Linked DNA regions of Homo sapiens: region 1 is linked to region 2. Evidence: promoter capture Hi-C in 16 types of primary human blood cells and fetal thymus (Javierre and others, 2016). All regions are on one chromosome and are shown on one strand. The core of a region is centred on a gene start or on the middle of the fragment in contact, and the rest is flanking DNA. Distances in the headings are between cores, read along the strand shown.

Region 1 (3,253 bases), core at 676-3,175, 300 kb after region 2:
AAACATCAGGCTTTCGGGAAACATTTGGAAGACACAATGCTCCTTTCACTACACAGACAACTGTTGACAGTCCTATCGCCTCCTTCCCTGCGTGTATGTGTCTATCCCTTTCAAGCCTTTTTGTGGTCAAATTATAAAGGCCTGTTTAGTGGGTGGGGTGACGTCACACTGACCACAAAAGCTTATATTTCCTGCTACTAAATACACAGCCCCTGCTGACGAAGTGATCATTACAGAGAGAGCTTGTTCTGCCGAGGTCACCCCAAAGTGGGGATGAAGGCACTGGGGCGGGGGCTCGGTTGAGAGAGCAGAGCCATTATTCCCAAGTGTGTCTGCCTGCCTGCTGATCCTCATCTTGCTAGAACCAAAAGATGAAAATAGAAGTCTCTTTGTGCTTCCTCCAGGCCTTTGTCTCTAAGGATGCTGGGGCACACTGGGACACAACATGGTGGGAAAAAGGAAAAGACAAAAATTCAGGTCTTTGATTCCAGTTTCCTCATTTATAAGCTCAGTGATTTTACCTCTCCGGGTTGAATCCTGAAAATCTCCGTTTTACTAAAGAGAAAAGAACCTCATCCAGGGATCACACGGGAGCATGTATTTTAAAGTGACTGGTTTTAGTTTTGAGGGCAGCTGCTATCTTATAGTGATTTCTTTAGTGTTCCCACTTTCCTTGTGCTGATTACAAACGGTGGTTCTCTCTTCTGAGAGGAGAGAGTAAAGGGTAGGTTTTGTTTTTACGCATTTCTTTCTATTTTATTTATTTATTTTTGCAGAGGTCATGGGTGAACAATTTTTTTAATGAAGGAAAATAAATGAATTAACGTGGTGACTTGTCCAGTTAAGCCAAAGAAGCCACACCAAGTGTTAGAGGACCACAGAGGAACCAGAGAGGATCTGGGTAAGATCTCACAGGAAGAGTAGCATCTGGGTTGGGTGTAGTGCATAGGAGTTTGGCAGGCAGAGGGTTATGATCATAATTACCATCCCCAGGAACCCCTAAGTATCCCCTGGCATTAAACCAGAGTGGTCTGAGGCCTTATGTTGTAAGTCCTTGGCACTCCAAACCTCAGATGAAACAAAAATTGATGGATGTGCTTTTTGAATAGTTCACTCAATCAGGTTAATTTTGACGTTTAAAGAAGCAGAAAACCACTGCTCAGCCAAGATCCTGCAGAACTTTCCTATTCTCCATCCTAAGCCCTTGGTGAAGTAGAACTCAAATTCCCTACATTTTTCTTTCTTTTATTTTTCCCCCCTCTTGTGAGGGATGATTACAAGTAAGGCCTCAAACCCAAAAAGGACTTGGAAACAAGTCCACGTGGTATTCAGTGAAGGAAATCTTTTGCTTTTATCCATGTAATTTAGGTGGTCTGGACAGCCAGTCTGGATACTCTAACTGCTGGCAAGATTCTGAAGGCCAAGGTTGTGTAGGTTGGTTCTCTATATAAACCGAAGAATTGAAAAACTGCCCCGTTCCTTTGGGCCATGTGTGTCCACCAGGCACTTATTGTGTGTGCACTTTCTGCCAGGCCACTGGCTAACTTTAAGGGCCTCCAGTGGGCCTAACGCCATGTGCAGTTCACCTGATCTGAGGCTGTGGCGGGCTGGTGTGGCTCAGTTATTCCCCACAAGCTGCCATCCCCTGGCTTAGACATAAAGCCTTAGCTCCATTAATCATCCTTTTCCTGGAGCATACTAGATGAGCTCCTGGCTGGGAGTAGAACTATCATGTTCATTTCCTAATTTTAAAAAGTGTGTGTTTGCTAACAGCTGGAAGGCAGGCTAGAAAGGCAGCTTCAAAGTCCCACTGTGGGGAAAATAATGCTAAGAAGATCCTGGGGCACTTTCTCTTGAACTCACCTCCCCTGTAGCACTGGGGACTGTCCTAGAAGATGAAGTCTGTGCTGGGGGTAGTGAGGGAGGGCCCAAGGCTTGCAAAGAGGATGGACACTGTCAATTTGGGCTGGGCTTAGCCATTAAAAGTAGATCTCTGAAAACAGAACTGGGGGAGTGAAGATGGAAGTTATGCTGTTAAGCTAATGAAAGAGTCAAGAAATAGAGAATATGGAGAAATCAGTGGCCAGAGCCCAGAAAAATAACAATTATGTGAAAAAAAAATGTCATTTAAAAGGTAGAAGCCAAGGAACTTGATGAAAACCAAGTCAAATAGCCAAGATATCTTTAACAGACTCAACATAGCTGACACTGAGAAGAACCTAAAAACTGAGGCAATGTTATAAATAGATCAATTCCAGAAAAAGCAAGACTCCTGGGGAGAAGGGTTGGGATGGAATCAGAACCAAAAGGTGAGAGCTCTCATTGTTCCACGAGGGAAGGACAGAGTCTCAGAGCAATGGCTGGGTCAAACGTGACAAGGATAATGGAAGTAAAATGATCAAAGTTAGAAAGGTTCTGACATAGTACAATAACAGAGGCCATGCAATGTAAACATATATCAAAACATCACATTTCAAGCTGGGTGCAGTGGTGCACTCCTGTATTCCCAATTACTCAGGAGGCTGAAGCAGGAGGATTGCTTGAGCCCAGAAATGAAAGTTCAGCCTGGGCAACATAGTGAGATCCCATCGAGAGAGAGAGAGAGAATCACTTTATACCTCATGAATATATAATATATATTTTATTTTTAAAAAGAAAATTTAAAAACAAATGCAGGTCATGGATCCAGAACTCAGAATGTAGGTAAATTAATAAGAAACTAGAAAGAAAAGACCATCTTTCTTAATGATTTCAACTGGCTCTGTAGGAAACCACCCAGGTGTTCATTGTCTCCAAAGAGCTAAACCTTGCCTCAGAAAAATGACCTTCTCCTATCTTTCCTGCTGCAGCAAGAACCTCTGGTTTAACCAATTAGGTAAGTCATTTATATGACACTCAATCTGAATTATTCTGTCTGTCTGTCTGTCTATCAATTTCTCTATCTGTCTATCATCTTTAGGGAAAAAGTATATCCCATGCACAGTTATGATAACAAAGGAGTCATCTTCTATACAATATTAAACATAACTATTGAAAAGTTAAAAACTCAAGCCTTCAGTTTAGGGTTTGATTTTCATGATCCAAAGCAGCATTCTTGACTGATTGTTTTTCCTTGTGTTGATTCATATTTGTCTGAGTGAATTTGATTGGCTGTTTTGGAATTGCGTAAGATACTTCTTCATTGACCCAAATAATCTGTTTGTTGATTTTATTCAGACTAACATATAACTTAATTGACTAAATTTTTGCCTTT
Region 2 (3,508 bases), core at 370-2,869:
CCCTGACTGCTGGAAACTTCGTGTCTAACCTCATGCCCCCTCATTCCTTCCTGCTTATACCCTTTCCTGGTTACTTCCCCAGAAACCACGTGGGTGGTTGGTTCTTGAGTTTAAATATGAGTCTCATTTCTACCCTGGAGCTACCTCTGAGGCAACAGGAAACAAGAAAAATACGATCCACCTCTGAGTGGGTGAATGTCATATCCTTGACCAGAGACATCATAAATTGTGTTACAACTCAGGGACAAGGTAAAGTGAGGGCTTAGGAATTTCCTAAATGAGCAGAACCAGCTCTATCCCTAAAGTCAGTTCTCTCTCTCTCTCTCTGTCAAATGATCAATACTCAGATTGAGACAATTCCTACTTCTAGGCACACTGGACTAAGGCTTATGGCATGCTACGAGGCAATATCCCACTCTTCAGTCTTGCCCACCTCAAGCCCAACATAGCTACCAAAATAACCTAAAGAAATCTAAACTCTCATCACTTCCACTGTTACCAATAGGATCCTTTACAAAGAACATGTTGGTCTCTGTTCAGAAGGTGTTCCCATCTCTTAGCCTGCTAATACTGCCCATATGATCAATGAATTAAGAGCTTCTAAGAGCTCCTCCAGGTGATCTCTATCTCCGGGCCAAGTCTTTAGATTTAGTTTAGCTTTCAACACCTCTATGCTATAAGCTCTGACGAAAACAGCTTGCATCCTTTGGTTTAAGCTCTAACAAAAACAGCTTGAATCCTTTGGTTAATGCTAATGAATGCATTTCTCCCTTTTTTATCTCTTCTCCCTTTCCATGTTGAGGAGAGAGACAGCACACTGGGATGAAGACAAATACGGCAATAGTGTGTGGCCAGAGTAGGACCACCTCCCACGGTGGTGGGAGGGAATTGGAGGACAAATTACTTTTGATATTTTCCAAGTCACATTTAATGGTTTCATACTGGCCAATTCTTCCCCAAACCCACCTAGCTCAGGAACTCAAGTCTTTCCAACCAAAAGATCAAAGTAAACATTTCTGCTTTCAAAGTTTTATTGAGATGTTGGGGAAAAACAGCCAACATATACATTCCTCATTTCGTCACAACTGGCATTTGATCCACATTCCATAGGCTCCTCTCTGGCTTTGATCTAACATCAGGTCTCCTTGGCAGTTCCCCTTCTGCTGTTCTTGTTGCTGCTTGGTGCTGTGTGAAGCGCACCAGGGCAGAGCCCGCTGGGGGCTCACAAGTGGGAGCGGTAATTGCGATTGGCTGTGGGAAAGGACAGGTTTGCAACAGAGACACGAATTAGAACATTCCCATCAAGACTCTTGTTGCTCAAATCTGCATTTAGTTATTGGAAATAATCTCAGGCCAAGATTTCAGGGTCCTGTGAGAGCTGCCTCCAAGAGGGAGGGCCTGGCAGCAATGTGTGCCTAAGTTTGGCAATCTCCTCCCCATCCCTCACTCACCGTCATCGCCCCGTTTCCTACTTTTCAGGTTGCCCTTACGGTATTTTCTTTTGCTGCCACCTCTCTTGACTCCCTTGTGAGGAGATCGGCTCTTGCTCCTCCTCATGCCATGACTCTTTAATTTGCGGCTGGTCGACATGGTAAGTTCTGCCAAAATGAGGGGCTTTGCAAGGCCCGGGGGCCAGGAGTCTGGGTATTTAAGGCCTTGGCCATTGTGACAGGGAAGGGGCATGGCTCAGCAGGTGGGCGGGGCTCTACTGTGCTGTCACTCACCTTTGCTGCACTTTGGTCACATTTGTGAAATAAGGTGGTCCTTTTCGTGCAGCTCAAGGGCTGCCCTCAGTTTTGAGGTCCTTTTTATGTTAAGTGAGGCTTTCCCAGAGAGGTGTTATTGAGAAACTGAATCCCAGCCCTGTGCCAGGCATTGGATGAGTACAAGAGACCATTCAGATATGCTTCTCCTGCCTGTAGGAAATGTAACAGTCATTGAGTGTGTGTGTATGCATGACTGTTTAAGTCTCTCACAGCATCCAGAGATAATAAATTTATTTCTGTAAGGACTTGACTCTACAGAACCCAATTCAATATGATCAAAATAGAAATATTCCTTCTTTTTCATCTAGGTCAGGATTTCTCAGTCTTGGCACTGTTGACACAATGGGCAGGGTAACTTTCAGTGGGCTGTCTTGTGCACCCTAGGATGTTTGGCAACATCCCTGGCCATTACCCACTGGACACCAGAGAAGCCTGGCAGCTATGACAACCCAAAATATTCCCAAACATTGCCACCTGTTTCTTTGGGAGGCTGGGGAAGTGAGGGAAAAAATGGCTCTGGTTCAGAACAATTAACCTAATCATTTTTTAAAATTCAGTCACAGATATTGATCACATAGCATATGCCATACATTTAGGTGGTAGAAAATTAGTGGAGGATAAACACACGTAGATACTGTGCTCATGGAACTCTCAGCCCACTGGGGAGAAAGCCATTCATCAGATGTCTACATAAATCAGTGAGTAAGTACTTACGGAGTCATTTTGGCTGGAGAAGGGCAGAGGGAAACTCCCTACATGGTACAGGATGAGGCTGGAGGGAGAGACAGAGATCAAACCATGATCAAGTACATTGGGAAGCCTTTAAAAATGTTAAGAGGATGGCATGTGAGATTAGAGGGTGCCAAGTGGGTGATGTATTGACTGGAGGAGCTGTGTAAAGGGAGATGCTACTGTCAACATCAATGGTTCAGCAGAGAGAAAGATTTGATGATGGTTTAGGTCTGGCCAGGAAAGGTGTTGATTGAGATCTAAAGTAGACAAGAGACCAAGGCTTGGTGACGGATTGAATTTGGGAGGTGAAAGCAGATGGTGTCAAGGGTGTGGCTTTTGTTTCTGTATAATGCAGTTATCTGGATGCTGGTGCCATTCATGGGGATAAAGGCCAGACATGGGGAGAGTGATGATCATGTACTTGGTATAAGACATACCAGCTTTGAAGTGCCTTTGACACTTACAAATAGATATATTGAATGATTATTGGTGTATAAGTCATCCAGCCTTTCCTTTTTCCTCCATTACACCTCATAGTAAATGCTTTGCTTTTGAAAATGTTTCTTTCTTTTTTTTTTTTTGAGACCGAGTCTTCTCTTTTGCTCAGGCTGGAGTGCAGTGGCACAATCTTGGTTCACTGCAACATCTGCCTCCTGTGTTCCAGCAATTCTCCTGCCTCAGCCTTCTGAGTAGCTGGGATTACAGGCGTGTGCCACCATGCCTAGCTAATTTTTGTATTTTTAGTACAGACAGCGTTTCGCCATGTTGGCCAGGCTAGTCTTGAACTCCTGATCTCAGGTGATCTGCCCACCTTGGCCTCCCAGAGTGCTGGGATTACAGACGTGAGCCACTGTGCCCGCCTCATTCGGATTTCTATAGAACTTGTTTGCTATTTCTTCCATTTGTCTCTCCTCTCTCCATTGTCATTACCCTCATTCAAGAACTGAGCATCTTGTATGCAGGAGATCCTTAGCAAAAGTTGGTTGAATAGAAGAGCGAAAGTAGTTCAA

Evidence for each region. The method cuts DNA at HindIII sites, captures the fragments that hold promoters and counts their contacts. A CHiCAGO score of 5 or more calls a contact.
Region 1: a contact is called between a fragment that was not itself captured here and the fragment with the promoter of TNP1 in region 2, in 1 of 17 cell types (megakaryocytes). The highest score is 6.0, in megakaryocytes.

The regions. Positions count from the first base shown.
Region 1 is chr2:217,162,580-217,165,832 of GRCh38, forward strand. No RefSeq gene overlaps it. Among named protein-coding and RNA genes, the nearest start is that of DIRC3-AS1, 120 kb to the right of the region's middle. The HindIII fragment of the contact is 3,492 bases long and covers 180-3,253 here.
Region 2 is chr2:216,858,445-216,861,952 of GRCh38, forward strand. TNP1 (transition protein 1) reads right to left here and starts at 1,620. Exons shown (of 2, transcript NM_003284.4): 1 at 1,452-1,620; 2 at 1,014-1,251. The coding sequence starts at 1,590. The coding sequence ends at 1,223. LOC124906118 (a long non-coding RNA gene) reads right to left here. Exons shown (of 3, transcript XR_007088082.1): 2 at 2,481-2,538; 3 at 1,810-1,916. The HindIII fragment of the contact is 13,346 bases long and covers 1-3,508 here.